Linked DNA regions of Homo sapiens: region 2 is linked to region 1. Evidence: promoter capture Hi-C in human tissues and cell types (Jung and others, 2019). All regions are on one chromosome and are shown on one strand. The core of a region is centred on a gene start or on the middle of the fragment in contact, and the rest is flanking DNA. Distances in the headings are between cores, read along the strand shown. Region 1 holds the start of IMPA1 (inositol monophosphatase 1). Region 2 overlaps LOC101927040 (a long non-coding RNA gene).

Region 1 (7,856 bases), core at 1,599-4,098:
ACCAGGGACAGGAAGAGTTCAGATTTCCTCTGAATCTGGATGTCCAGATTTCCCACTCTGGCAACTGTATGGATAACCGTCACAGTCTACTGAAACAGGGAGCAACAAAAAAAGAGTCAAGTTTGGGATATAGGTAGGAGTTTGAGAGATCAGGAGTTTAATTAGCGGAAGATGAGAGGCCTCTGTAAAATCAAAAGATGTCAGTTAGGCAGCTGAATCATGGATCCTGAGCTCACAGGAGAGGTATGGCCTCCATGTAGAAACATGTAAGTTACTTGAGTAGACAGCAACTGAGGTCCTGAGTCTGGATAATCACTGGATAGGCATGATTGACAACTGTGTAGAAATGTGATCCCACAAAATCAGTATGATCCAAATGGAACAGACTGACTGTGGAAACCCAGCAAGGACTGTCCATTCGGATTCATCTTGGCCTCTCTGTCCAGCATTCCTTTCTCCTGTATATGGGGCAAGACCCCTTGTGAAATGGAGGTCTTACGATCTACAGTCAGACAAGGTAGGTCAGAGAATTTCTTCATGGCTAGTTCTAAGACAGAAAGGTGGGCCAAGATTCCTGTCAAGGGCTATGGGAGTTATGAGCCAGGAATGGTGGATGCAAACTATATATATATATATATACACACACACACACATACACACATACACACACACACACACATACACACACATACACATATATAATACAGTAAATATACTTTATATACTATATATTTAGATACTATATATAGTATATATACCATACATAAGTATATTTAGATACTATATATAGTATACCATACATAAGTATATTTAGATACTATATATAGTATATATACCATACATAAGTATATTTAGATACTATATATAGTATATATACCATACATAAGTATATTTAGATACTATATATAGTATATATACCATACATATTTAGATACTATATATAGTATACTATACATAAGTATATTTAGATACTATATATAGTATACTACACACAGTATCTTTAGATACTACAGTATACTACACATAAGTATCTTTAGATACTATGTGTAGTATATATACTACACATAAGTATCTTTAGATACTAATGTGTAGTATATATACTACACATAAGTATCTTTAGATATATATATCTAGTATATATATACTACACATAAGTATATATACTACACATAAGTATATATACTACACATAAGTATATTTAGATACTATGTGGAGTATAAATACTACACATAAGTATATTTAGATACTATGTGGAGTATATATACTACACATAAGTATATTTAGATACTATGTGGAGTATATATACTACACATAAGTATATTTAGATACTATGTGGAGTATATATACTATACATAGTATCTATGTGTAGTATATATACTATACATAAGTATATTTAGATACTATGTATAGTATATATACTATACATAAGTATATTTAGATACTATGTATAGTATATATACTATACATAAGTATATTTAGATACTATGTATAGTATATATACTATACATAAGTATATTTAGATACTATATATACTATACGTAAGTATATTTAGATACTATATATAGTATATATACTATACATAAGTATATTTAGATATATATACTATAAATAAGTATATTTAGATACTATATATAGTATACATTAAGTATATTTAGATACTATATATAGTATATATACTATACATAAGTATATTTAGATACTATATATACTATACATAAGTATATTTAGATACTATATATACTATACATAAGTATATTTAGATACTATATATACTATACATAAGTATAGATACTATATATAGTATATATAGTATATATACTATACATAGTATATTTATGTACTATACATATAGTATATTTATATACTATATGTAAGTATATATGTAAGTATATTTATGTACTATATATAAGTATATATACCTAAGTATATTTAGGTACTATATATAAGTATGTATACCTAAGTATATTTCTGTACTATATATAAGTATATATACCTAAGTATATTTCTGTACTATATATAAGTATATATACGTAAGTATATTTCTGTACTATATATAAGTATATATACGTAAGTATATTTATGTACTATATATAAGTATACAGAAGTATATTTATGTACTATATATAAGTATATATACTATACATAAGTATATTTATGTACTATATATAAAGTATATAAGTACATTTTATATATATTTTTATATATAGTTATATATAATATATGAATAGTTATATATATATAAATCACAGTACATTTATTGATGGGCAGGGTCCGTAGTTTACTCACTTTCATTTTCCCAAAGCCATAAACACCTGAACTGTTTCCTGCTGTTTCTGTCCTGGTCACAGCCTTCCAGCGTAGGAGCCAGGCCACCTTCCTTTTTGCCACCTGTCCCAGCACCGCGACTGCGGGCAGCACAGGACCTGGGCGCTGCCCCATCACTTAGAGTGACTACCTGGGCCTGGGGATGCACCAAGTTTCTAGGAGCTTTTCGGAGTTGGGGACATAAAAAGGGGCAATTATTCCACAGAAGCCGCCACAGAGGTTAAGTGAGGTCGCGTGAGCGAACCGCTACTCCAATGCCGGAACTGTTCCCGGTCGCCCAGGGCAGCTCCGGATAACGCAGCAGGCAGGGGTCACCCAGAGGCTGCCTCCACCCTAGGCGCCGACCGCGCACGGCGCTCGCGCCCGCTCCTGAGGAGGGAAGGGGCCTCCCTGGAAACCCACAGCGCCCGCTGAACCCGGAGGGTGCGGTGAGGAAAATAACGGTCTCACCTTGAGTCGGAGGACGTCCGGCTAGCTCTGTGAACGGTGTTACCGCACTCGTCTCTTCCGGAGGTAGAGGGGCTACTCGCAACAGGAAGTTCCGCCCTTAAAAACTCCATTCCTGAGGGGGCGTGGTTGCTTTGCTGGGCCCCGCCCCGAGCTGCGCCCTGCGAGCCTCTGCCAGGCCGGGCCGGGTCCTGACCCGCGCTGGAGCATGGGATACTGCCTCTTCATTCTAGCTTCTGGTTCTTTTCTCCTGCTTGTCTTTTCATCTCTCAGTTTTTAAACATTACTTCTCTCTTTACTTTGCCTTTTTCTTCTTTCGTCCTCCATTCATTCACGGTTTCCCATTTAGCTTGCTTTCTTCTTTCTCCCATTTATTCTATAGTACTATTTTGACAAAACCCAGATTGCAGATATGATTCCGATTATGCAGCTTTTAGGTGCTAACCTAAAGCTGGTAAACCTATACTAGATTAAAAAAAAATAAACTGATAACCAGAACCAACTGCCCAATTCTTGATAATTTACTTACATACTATTTATTGAGGACTTACTATGCTTCAAGCAATTGTGTGGGGTTTTATTGTTTTGTTTTTTTGAGACGGAATTTCACTTTTGTCGCCCGGGCTGAAGTGCAATGGCGCGATCTCGGCTCACTGCAACGTCCGCCTCTTGGATTCAAGCGATTCTCATGCCTCAGCCTCCTGAGTAGCTGGGATTACAGACGCCTGCCACAACGCCCGGCTAATTTTTGTATCTTGTAGAGACGGGGTTTCACCATGTTGCTCAGGCTGGTCTCAAACTCCTGGACTCAAGTGATCCGCCTACCTCGGCCTCCCAAAGATTACAGGCATGAGCCACCACGCCTGGCCGAAATGTGTTTTTATATGCATTATTTTCCTTAAAGTTTTAACAGTTTCTTGAAAAAGGTATGATTAGCTTTGTCAGACAGATGAGGAAACTGAGGCTCAGAGTAGTTAAGTGATTTGTCCTCAGGTCACACAGCAAGAGCAGAGAGTGAAACACACTGAGTTCAAAGTTTTGGGGTTCAGAAAATGATACCCCACAATGAAGGCCTCAGAAGCAGCCTTAGAAGGAAAAATTTTCCTCTGACTCCTTTTGGTCTCCTGTCTCTGGTCCCACATTCTTCCCCAGACTAGTCATAGAAGCTAGAATTCCTCTTTCCCAAATCAGGTCCCAGAAATCAGGACCCCTTTTTTATAAAGCCAGCCATAAAACATAAAAATACTACTCTAGGCCAGGCAAGGTGGCTCACGCCTGTAATCCCACCACTTTGGGAGGCCAAGGCAGGCGGATCACGAGGTCAGGAGATCGAGACCGTCCTGGCTAACACGGTGAAGCCCCGTTTCTATTAAAAACACAAAAAAATTAGCCGGGTGTGGTGGCTGGCACCTGCAGTCCCAGCTACTCGGGAGGCTGAGGCAGGAGAATGGCATGAACCTGGGAGGTGGAGCTTCCAGTGAGTGGAGATCGCGCCACTGCACTCCAGCCTGGGCGACAGAGGGAGCCTCCGTCTCAAAAAAAAAATATATATATATAGAGAGAGAGATATAGATAGATAGATAGATAGATAGATAGATAGATAGATAGATAGATAGATAGATATTACTCTAGCATTCTCCCTGTGTTTCTATGTAAAATCTGACCACGAAGAAATTATATGACTCACCCTGTCTGAGTTTAGGTCATAAGACCCCCATTCCAAAGAGGGTCCTATGGAGAGAGGCCAAGAAGAATCTAAGCAGACAGGTCTTACTGGATTTCCCCAGTCTAATAGCATTAGGTTATACCCTCTTTGTCCAACCATATTCTACACAGCTGTCCATATGCTGTTGAAACTAAGCATAAAATGGACTGTCCCCTTATACCTTTGGGTCTTCATTCTGAAGGCTCCCAAGTCACATAAAACTATGATCAAATAAAATCCTTTTCTTCTATTTATCTGCCTTTTGTCAGTTGATTTTCACCAAACCTTCAGAGGACAAAAGGGAAGTTTTTTCTTTGGCCCTACAAAAGTTTACACACTGAGAATATATGGCACAATGAGATCACATTATATGAGGTACAAGGACTAGTTATGGTCTTAAAATGTTTCTTCTTCTTGAAAGAGTTGGCCAGGTGCAGTGGCTCATGCCTGTAATCCCATCACTTTGGGAGGCCAAGGCAGGCAGATCACCTGAGGTCAGAAGTTCAAGACCAGCCTGGTCAACATGGTGAAACTCTGTCTCTACTAAAAATACAAAAATTAGCCAGGCATGGTGGTGGGTGCCTGTAATCCCAGCTACGAGGGAGGCTGAGGCAGGAGAATCGTTTGAACCCCGGAGGTGGAGGTTGAAGTGAGCCGAGATAGCGCCATTGCACTCCAGCCTGGGTAACAAAAGTGAAACTCCATCTCAAAAAAGAAAGAAAGAAAGAAAGAAAGAAAGAGCGACATCGTGGTACATACACCATCATAGTGCAAAAAGCATTGCACAGATATAAGATGTCCTAGCTACAACTGGACCAGGAAAGTAAGTTAGTTATTTGGCTCTTTGCTTAGGAAGTTACTGTTTCTGTTTGTTTAATCAAAAGACAAAATGTCACCAATATATTTCAAATGAAATGTCTTAGAGATGAGTAATTTGGACTGGACTCAATTCTCACACCTCACAAGGACCAATAAACATCTTTAATCCAAAAAGAGTGATGCCTTAGGTATCCGGTTTGGATGTCTATCAAATGATACTTTATTTTCTTAGAAAAAAAAAAAAGGCTTCTGAGGCTAGTTTTTCGGTTCTTCATTGCCAATCTTCTTAAAATAAAAATATTGCCAACCGCATGCTGACAAGTGCTCATTCGTAACCAACTAATATTTCCAAAGTTTTAACAGAAAAGTCATCGGTCATCTAAGTTTATGTAAATGAATGTGGTTTCAGTGACTTGAAAAAACTGCTAAAATCAGCATAAACAATTTGAAGTAAAATAAACTAAATATCAAATATCCCTTCAAATGAAAACCTTACAAGCTTCCTATGTCAGGTGAGCAGGAAGTCCAGTTTTTCCAAGAGGCCTCACCTCAACAGCTACTTCACATTGGTTCTCAGGTAACTCACTCAGTATTTTTCAGTCCAAAGAGGCCGTTCTGCTTCCAAATGCCTTACCGAAAGTGAAGTGAAAATCTGCCGGTGCACAGGGAAGTCTTAGTGTTCAGGCTCGATTATAGTGGGGCTGGAAACTGGTCTCACAAATCCAAAGGATCTTTTCTCTGATGCTGTGAAGGTAGTTCACATGGCTGCAGAGACCTCAGTACAGGATGCATGGCCCTTGAGTTCCCAAAGGGGCATTTTTTAAAACTACAGTCCCATCTGCAGCCATTGTTCCCAAACCTAAGAATATCTGCTGTGCCCAGGTGGTTGTCGGGGGCAGGGGACAGCAGCACAAACTCTGCTTCCTGGCATGATGTCCAGCTCCTCACTCTTCCAACCTTCCCTAAGGGGAGTTCCCTCTTGGAGGCCTTTGGTATCCTTTCCTGTCAGCTGACTCCCATCTATGAGAGAGGTTGTAATTACGCTGAACCTCAGAATGAAAGAGAGGTGAGATCCAATGCCCCTGACACCTCCCCAGACAGCTGAGTGTACACAAGAGAGTTCTAGGGAAGGGTGGCCCTGTGAAGCCACAAAGTGGTCTGGTCATCCTTCCCAGTGGGCAATAGGTGCTTCCTTGTTCTGTATTTGTACAATAAAGAGGGGCCATAGGAATTCCTTCCCCAGAAATTGTGGGCATCTTGCCAACTACACTTAGTCTTTGGAGATGACTTCTTTTTAAATAACCACTCTCTTCACTAAAAAATAATTCAGGTTCCACATGCGAAGACGTTCTTGGTTATAATAATTATTTAAGTGGACTTTGATTTAAATGATCAAATATAAATACACCATGGCAGCTGTTCAGGGGTGGAGTGTCCAAGGATATCTAATAAGATCTCATGTTTGATATAACAGATTGGAGTTGCATATATTGGTTAAGACTTTGACATACCCTTATAAGGCCAACAGCTTTCCAAGATATAAAAATATATATCATAAAATTGTTATTCTTGGAAGAGTGTATCATAGAATCATCTCTTAAGAGCTGGAAAGAAACTTTTTTAAAAATTGGCATAACCATTCTATCTCTGGATCGTTATTCTATCTTATAGAATCGTGGCTGTGGAAAATAGTTGGTATGAACTCAACTGATTAGTCAGTCTGCTTTATGCCTCTCATTCTTATTTTTTTAAAAAGGAATAACTTGGGTCACCCCATCCCTATCCATATTTTTGGACAAGTTTTACTATGTAAAATCTGTCCTCCTTGATACATCTATTAAAGAAATAAAATATACTCCAAATTCCATCCATGCCCTTGCAACTGCTTTATAAGATCATTTAAATATGCATAATGTAACAAAAATAATAATAGGGCTTACCATGTGTCAGGCATTCTTATGAGGACCTTGCTCATATTAATTCACTTAATCCTCACAATAATACCACGAGGTAGGTACTACCATTATCGCCATTTTCAGCATGAATTTGGGCATAGAGAAATCAAGTAACTTGACCAAAATGTTCCCCAGCTGGTAAGATGATGGAGCTAGAAGTGCAGCCCAAGAGGTCAGGAGTTCAAGACCAGCCTGGCCAACATGGCGAAACCAGATACAAAAATACAAAAATCTCTACCCAAAATACAAAAATTAGCTGGGCATTGTGGCAGTCACCTGTAATCCCAGCTACTCAGGAGGCTGAGGCAGGAGAATTGCTTGAACCTGGAAGGCAGAAGTTGCAGTGAGTGGAGATCATGCCACTGTACTCCAGCCTGGGTAACAGAGTGAGCCTCCGTCCCCCCGCCCAAAAAAAAAAAAGAAAAAAAAAAAAAACAAGTCAGCCAGGCACGGTGGCTCAGGCCTGTAATCCCAGCACTTTGGGAGGCCGAGGTGGGCGGATCACCTGAGGTTGGGCGTTTGAGACCAGCCTGACCAACATGGAGAAACCCCATCTCTACTAAAAATACAAAATTAGCCGGGTATGGTGGCGCATGCCTGTTGTC
Region 2 (7,856 bases), core at 2,165-4,664, 1.9 Mb before region 1:
TTTCTCCCAATTTTCCACTCCTCCAAGGCCTCCCAAGAAAAGCTGGTATTCTGGGTCACTGAAATGGCGTCAGGTTATTAAGCAGAGAAAGGGGATTAGAGGAACAGTTCCTAGCAGCAGCAGCGAACACAGTTACGGTATTGAGAGCTTGCGTTGCATGTTAATAAAATGCTATAAAACATCAAACCCTAAAGGTAGCAGTGAAAGCCACGTAAGTCCTTTCCGGAGTTTGCCTTCTGCAGCTGTGGATCTAAAAGTTCCCTGCCTTTCCTGTACTTTCATAATCACGCTTTTCCTCCTTTAGAGAGACACGCAGCCTCACTCCCAAACCATGGTGTGTTTTAAATGCTGACCACCCCATCTTTCCCTGGCACCATGGAGCGTTTCAGTCTAAAACCCTAGGGTCTGCGAATTCTGGCCAGTGCGCTGGGGAGAGGTAGTAGAGTAATTAAGTTAGCTGTTAGCTGCTGTGAGCGGACTTCGGTATTTCATCGCAGCTGCCTGCCTCTGTCTCCCCAGCCGCCCTCCCACATCTTCCTATGAGACCGGCTGTGTGTGTGAAGGAGGTGCTGTTTCCCACAGCTCTGATCTAATTCAGCTGAAATTCAATCTCCGTGTGACCAACCTCAGCCAGCGCTCTCCCACCCACCGCCGGCCTCCCCTCTGCAGGCTGTGTGTGCTGCCCATTTACACCATCAATCCCACAGCCTCCCCTCCACCAGCCCCTGGGTATAGACTTACGGTGTCAGCGGGCCAGCCTTGGGGGCTCGCCTGCTGCCCGGACGCTCACCCCTCATCCCCAGTACTCCGAGGTGAGACACTCTATACCTGCCACTCGGTGGCCTGAATGGGGCCTGTGAGTCATCGCAGGAGAAAGGGCAGTGGGGCCAGCTGAGGCTGAGAACCCAAAACAGATGTCAGAGACATCAGGCCACGTTTTCCATGGATCTTCAGTGCCCAGAAAGATTTATGACCTCTTTTAACCCCCTTTTAACGTGGGTTGAACTGGGCTTGTCTTATAGGGGGGAAACAAGTCTGGCAGTCATTCAGAAAGTCACCAGAGCGACAGGGCCTGCCCTGGGTCTGTGGACCCTTGCTTCCTTTCTTTGTCATCCCTCTCTTAAGCTCCATCCCTTAGCCTCTGTGTTTGGTGGGGACATTCCATCACAGACTCATCAGAGCTCTCCATCCCTTGACAGCCCAAAGCTGCTTGTGGCTTTGACCCTAAATGGTATTCAATTTGGGTTTGCATCTTCATACTGAACAAGGAAATAATAAGTATCTTTTAGAAGAGCAGAGATTGCAGAAGGCCAGCACTGGCCAGTGATGCAGGGCCCTGGCTTTTTTTTTTTTTTTTTTTTTTCTGGTCTAATTGTTGCCTAATCATGTTATCCTGGATCAGGCGCACTTTCTTTTGACTAAGAAAGCTTTGAACTTTGCTTTGCACTTCCTGCAAGAGGAGGATTTCTACCTCGGGGCAGAGAGGCACAGGAAGGCAGAGGTTTGCGGGTACCTTTTACAAGCCCTATGAAGCAAAAGGGAAGGGGTTTACAAAGGCATCATAATTAGAAATGATGTGTCAGGGCAGGCAGGCACCACCAGAATGTGACCCTGCCGGTCTCCTCCCAGGCTGCTGCAGGAACACGGGAAATTCAGCGTGGCTTCAGCACGGGCACTCAAGCCATTTTCCAATGCAAAGGATCCCAGTCTTCCAACCTTCCATTAGTTTTACTGCACAGATTGATAAGTGACAGGCAGGGTCACACCTTCATGCTTATTTTTTTTTAAGAGAATTATAATTTGCATGAAGAGATTCCTTTTTGCTAACAATCCACCCGCTCGCTTATCTTGATCTACAGATAAAAACAGGACAGTGGAGCTGGAAAGTGTTTCCCGCACCTCCCTCAGACTCCCAGACACTCAATTTGCATTCAGTCTCAGAGAGAGTTTAGAGCCTGCTGTGTCTCCTTTTTTTGGACAGTGGGTAGTTATGACCGGAATTAAAAGGAGAAAAGTCTCCAGCACTTAAAAAAATCAACCAACTTTTTTTATGAACTTCTGCTAACAGTTAGGCTGTGTCACGGAGGGAGGTGTCCTGGGAGGGAACCTCACCCCTCCCTAGAGAAGAGGAAGCTTCCCGCAGCCAACCTCAGAAATAATCGTCTCCCTGAGTCCTGAGAAAACTGCCCCAAATGTTAACACATCAATCTTAAGGAAACGAGCCTGGCTTTTACCGACTTAATTTCATATAATTATTTCAGAGTTTAAGTCTTTACAAGAAAGAGGGAGTGGAGGGAAAGGATCAGAAAATTGAAGGGGATGAACAGAAGAGGAATGAGATTCCTTTGTTTTGAAGATTCCCATTTCTCTCCCAGTGTGCAGGGCATCTTTATCTGTGCTTTCGTCTCTCAGGAGCAAATGCACAGCACACTCAACAGCATGTGGAGAAGCTTGGAAGGCGCTGATTTCGGCTCAAGTCCGTTTTTAAAGGACACTTTAATAAAGCATCCTCTTGTGTCTTGGATCTTAGAACACCAAATGTACAGTGAAATGAGGTCAGAAGACCTGTGTGCCAGTCCTGACTCCTGACCACTAAGTTATGATGTAGTTGGCACAAGTCATTAAGCTTCGGGGACTTTATTACATCTCTAAAATGGAGGTAATGAGACCTCCCCTGCCCCCCTCTGGGGGGTTATATATAGGAAAATAGGAAAACACTTTGAAAAGTTAAAAATGCTGCTATACAGTCAAAAGTTATTATTCTTACAATAATAAAGTTCATTATGAGTATTCTGTAAGTACATTTTTAAATTTAATTTTTTTACATAGAAACAGGTTCTCACTATGTTGCCCAAGCTGGTCTCAACCTCCTGAGCTCAAGCGATCCTCCTGCCTTGGCCTCCCAAATAGCTGGGATTACAGGCATGATCCATGATGCCCAGCCTGTAAGCAGTTTATTATCAGTATTCACATAAGAGCCAGCAGCATAGGATTTGTTAAGTAAGGAAAAAGCTCGGACACCATCTAGTCCAATCAGTTTTAAATGCATCCATTTAAAATGTAAATGACAAAGCCTCATCCTCCAGAAATATTGATTCCATAGGTATAGATTAGCCCAGAAATCTGGATTTTAGATCACCACCTTGGGATATTCAGAGATAGAATCCAACAACCTGACTTTGAGCAACGTTGTTTTGCAAAACGAGGACATTTCTCATTCTCCTACTCCCTGGCCATATCCTTCCTCCCACTGGGGCTGGGTGTGAGAATAGAGCACATTACTTTCACATCTCTTCATTAATATTTCAGAATCTACAATGTGAAGGACTGGGAAGAAACAAAGCAGAATCGGGGATTATGTTGATGGGTTTGGTTTCCCTTTAATGATGAGAAAAAATGCATGTCTGCTCTGAGCAGATGATAAATTGATCCAGAAAATGTTGCACAAGTGTTCTTTGCTAAGCTTCAGGGTCAAAGTCAACAATATAAAAGAAAATATACCTCCGTTTAGTTGAAAAGGACTTACGTTCAAGGCATTGCACAACAGGTCTGGTGTGGGTTACACTCTGTCAAATGGCCCTGTTCATTTATTCAGCTTTCCACAGATCTTTGCCAAAGAGGACAATGAGAGAAAGAGACAGATTTAGCTGTTGTGGTTGCAGTTTGTTTTTGCACCTGGTGGGTTTTTTTTTTAAATGACAATAGTTTGAGAATATCACGACAACATTTTTAAAGATAATGAAATCATTTGTATGTGAAGTTGGGATAATGAAATGACAAGCCTCTCATAAAAGGAATCTCCTTTTAGTAACCATTGCCTATACTTGCATTAAGTGAAAAAAAAAAAAAAAATGAACCGAGGAAGAACTTTCTAGAAAGATAGATAGCTCCTAGAAATCTGGGAGCTTTTCATCATTATTAAACTCATTTGTCTTGCAACTTTCTATTCCTAAAATGAGCAAAAAATTTAACAAAAGCAGTCTCTGGAAAACCAAAACAGAGAACTCATAACATATTCCATTTACTCATAGGAAACTCTCAGGTACCTCCTCAAACCTCTCTACACACAGTTCTAATGCACATCTGCATGCACACACGTGTAAGTGTGTGTCTATATTGGTCTTCTATGCTCACAGTAAACACTGAACATCAGAAAATTAGGGTAGAAGAATTTCTGGAAATAGGTGCATTGATAACCAGAGTGATTGGTCAATGGACTGATGAAAAGCAGGGAGACGAGAGTATATTTAAAAGTTTTCAAAATAACTTCAGAATCTGAAAATTTGGGACCCTTTATGTGCCCTATTGCATTGCAGCAGAGTAACAAAATCTTGTTCACTGTCATGATCCCAAGGCATCAAGAAAAAAATTAAATTTCATCCATTTTCTCTGTTTAAGAAGGTACTAAACAATGTATTTTGGAAAGATTTTCATCAAAAATGTTTAAAATTAAAAAGTCCATGCTGAAAGAGACAAATCCTTATGTTTCCAGAACTCTCATTTACTCAAAAATCTTTTTTCCCAAAGTTTCTGAATAAGCAAAGTTTGTCTAAGGAGCAAAGATTGGGAGAGAGGAGGAGTGGGAGGAGGAACAGCTGTTCTGAATTAAGAAGCATGTTAATGACAGCACAGGAGTCAGAAAGATGCTCGGGTTCGCCTGCTGGTCTAAGAGGCAATGTATTAAACTGTCTAATAAAAACAATTGTTCTAGGCCTGTGATAATGGACATGAGGAGAAAGATTTGGAAGACAGCATTGACGAATGAAGTATCTGTGGCATAAAACCACTCTCTCCTGCGCCCTCAGTCCAAGGCTGTTATCAGAAGTAGGTGACACTGCACAGGCACGGGGTGACGAGGGGCGTGCTGGAAATGGCCCAGTCTAACTCACTCACATTTTGGCTTCACAGGGAGCATTTTCTGAGAGGGTCGATCACCTGAACTGCAAATGGGCCAGGGCAGGAACAAGAGGGGAGAAAAGGGGATGCTTTCAACAGGAAGATTAATGATAAACACGAAATAGCATGATGACTGTGAAGGTTTCAGGCACCGGAGATGCTAAGAAAAAAGAAAACAGAAAGTCTTTTTATCTTTACAGTGGTTCCTATAAAGGGGTCAGCAGGTCGTGGTAGAAACTATCAGTTAATTATCTCTAGGTCAGCAGCATGCCTCTAGTCAGAGAGCCCAGCCCCCTTGCAAGGAGACCCTGAGCTCACTGATGCCGACCAGGAAAGGCCAGGGGTGGGGGGAGGAAACTTCTGAGCAGGAGACAGAAGCTGCACCAAGCCCCTCATCCTGCTTGCCTCTCACCCCTGAATCTACATCCCATAGACACTGAAAACGTTCCCCAAACCTGCCACTGACTAGGGAGCTCTGTCTGAATACAAATAGGACCGAGACTAAAGTGTCCCTATTTTAGAAATGGAGAGATACTCTAGGAACACAATCAGAATCAAAAACTGCTGTCTCCAGAGCCTAAACCTGACCTTGACTTCAGCCTTCACCTTCTCCCTGGCCACTTGACAAGACGTAGTCACATTTAGGACACGGAAAATATGTAAACCCTTCAAAAAGTTTTTAAATCCTGTGTCATGTCATCTAATTTGTGCTGTAGATAAGAAATATAAATACACATGCATTATTATGATTTTTTAAAAAGGCAGAAATCCTAGGTATCAACAACTTCCTAAACATAAATGACTCCTAAATCCAGCTCTTTCCTCAGCCCTGGACTTGGATTTCCAATTGCCCGCTGGAAATATCCACCTGGCTATCCCATAACTTGTAAACGATTTGTTTGTGAACAAATTCACTTTCTTGTAGACGCAGGTCTGTTGTCACCTTTTCTGTTTGTCAAGTTATCGAGACGAAGTAAGACTAACAGGATGAATAATCACAAACACATCTGTCCCATCTCACAACAGAAGTAAAGACTTGTATTGACTGGTTCTTAAGGACACGTAAAGGATTTAGAAGCTGATTCAAGGATGTGTGCATCATGGTCTTACATATCAGCAATTCTGAATCATGAGTAGTCGAGATAAGTTATAATAGTTGTTATCACTGTTATGATCTCTTAGGTATACAGCCCCAGGAGTTTCCCTTGACAGAAGCAGACTCTGAGAAAAGTTTGGCATTGGGTGCCCATATCCCCATTGCTGGCCCTTTGCTTCAAGCGCAGAGAACTGCTCACTCAGAACGCATCCCAAAAATGGTCCTACCCATATTGTCTTTTCTCATAGACTCACAGAAAGTTGAACCTAAAAAAAAGACATTAGAGATCTTCTAGTTCAGCCCCTTTATGTTCAGATGAGGTCATGGAGATTGAAAGAAGGGCTATCCCCGTCGGTCACAGAAATCCAGTGGTAGAGCTGTAACTAGAACAAAGATCATCTGTGGTGTTCCTCTTTCCTTTCTGCTTTCACAACTATACTATAATGAAGAAAAATTAATACCTTTCCAAGAGATATTTACATTTTAACAGGGTTCAAAGAATCAAGCTAACCCAGCGATAAGAGCAGAGCATTAGGGATCAACTGCACAACAGAGCAGGTGTTTATAGGCTAGCTACCTATGAGGCTGAGTATTCTGAAATACATTCCTTTCAACATCACAGAGGTCTGACGTGTTTACAAAGCTTCCTTGTCTCTTAAACTCCTTTCAATATTAATGCCTTCATGACTGGAAAGGAAAACATCTGAAGTGACTACATTGTATTACTTACTGTACAGTGTGCATGTCATAACCAGATTCACCACGTAATTTAGGGCTTCCTCTACAGTATTTCCCTTGAAGAAAATTGAGGCTAATAAGAAATTCTCCTTTCCTTTTCTAGTTGTTCTTGGTATTTTGTTACCAATTTAGTGATGGCTCAACTATAAGTTTGAGCAGGAGGAAGGACTAAAGGTGTGGAGCAAGGTCATGGACATGGGCTTGGGTCCAAGAGATGTCTGTGTTTACTCTCCTTGATGACTGTCAAGTCATTTCCCCTGGGTGTCCTAATTCAATTGCAAGAGAACCAACATGTCTAGTCCCAGGCATTGCTTCTGTAACACTATCTCACTTCCTTATCACTTCCCCATCCTTCCCTCTTGCAAGACTGGAAATAGCTTTGTCATTTCCATTTACCTTCACCTCTATCTTCCCCACTTCCTTCCCATTTACCTTAGCAAGATAAATACAAAAGAAACTATGTTCAGAAGACATACTTGACCTAGCATGTCATAGATGTGCAATAAGCATGCTGAGATTAATCCCATAATTGGTATCCCTTCCTAGGTGCCTATGGATAGATGCCCTGGAGAAACTGGCTTAGTATTAATGAAAAACACACCCATAAGTTGTACGTGATACAGATTGAAATATTACTTAAATGCCAACAAGCGTGAAGATTATGATTCTAAATAAGATTTTTGACATTTTTCATTGAGTTTTCCAGGGCTCCTTACAAGGAAGCTACAGGAATTTTTTCACAAAGGATCTATGCACCACTGTGAAATCCAAGTTCTGTTCCATGTCTTCAAAAATATTGAGCTGTTTTGCAGTCTATTCCATCACACATTTATGTTTGTTTTAACATAAAATTTCCCCAAAACGTCTTGTAAAATGGATGCTTCAAGAAGATGCACAATGTTTATCCTATGACTTTCAAAAGCCGCTGTAATACCACTGCATACTCCAGCTTGAGAAATCAAACGTAACCATCAAAGGAACCATGAAAAGAGCCATGCTCTTTGAAGGCCAGGGTCCCAATTTTATTTTAAGGCTTTTTCTTTTTATCAATTATAAAATCTGACAAGTGTTTCTACTAAATAAGTATATTCAACTTTTTTTTTTTTTTTTTTTTTTTTGAGACAGG

Evidence for each region. Contacts are between HindIII fragments. The study calls those that stand out against the background at their distance.
Region 2: a fragment that was not itself captured here is called in contact with the fragment with the promoter of IMPA1 in region 1 in 1 of the 25 tissues and cell types used here (mesenchymal stem cells).

The regions. Positions count from the first base shown.
Region 1 is chr8:81,683,477-81,691,332 of GRCh38, forward strand. IMPA1 (inositol monophosphatase 1) reads right to left here and starts at 2,849. Exons shown (of 9, transcript NM_005536.4): 1 at 2,776-2,849. RefSeq lists an enhancer at 2,595-3,095. The HindIII fragment of the contact is 9,069 bases long and covers 1-7,739 here.
Region 2 is chr8:79,826,975-79,834,830 of GRCh38, forward strand. All of the region lies in intron 2 of LOC101927040 (a long non-coding RNA gene), which reads right to left. Among named protein-coding and RNA genes, the nearest start is that of LINC01607, 63 kb to the left of the region's middle. The HindIII fragment of the contact is 3,269 bases long and covers 1,781-5,049 here.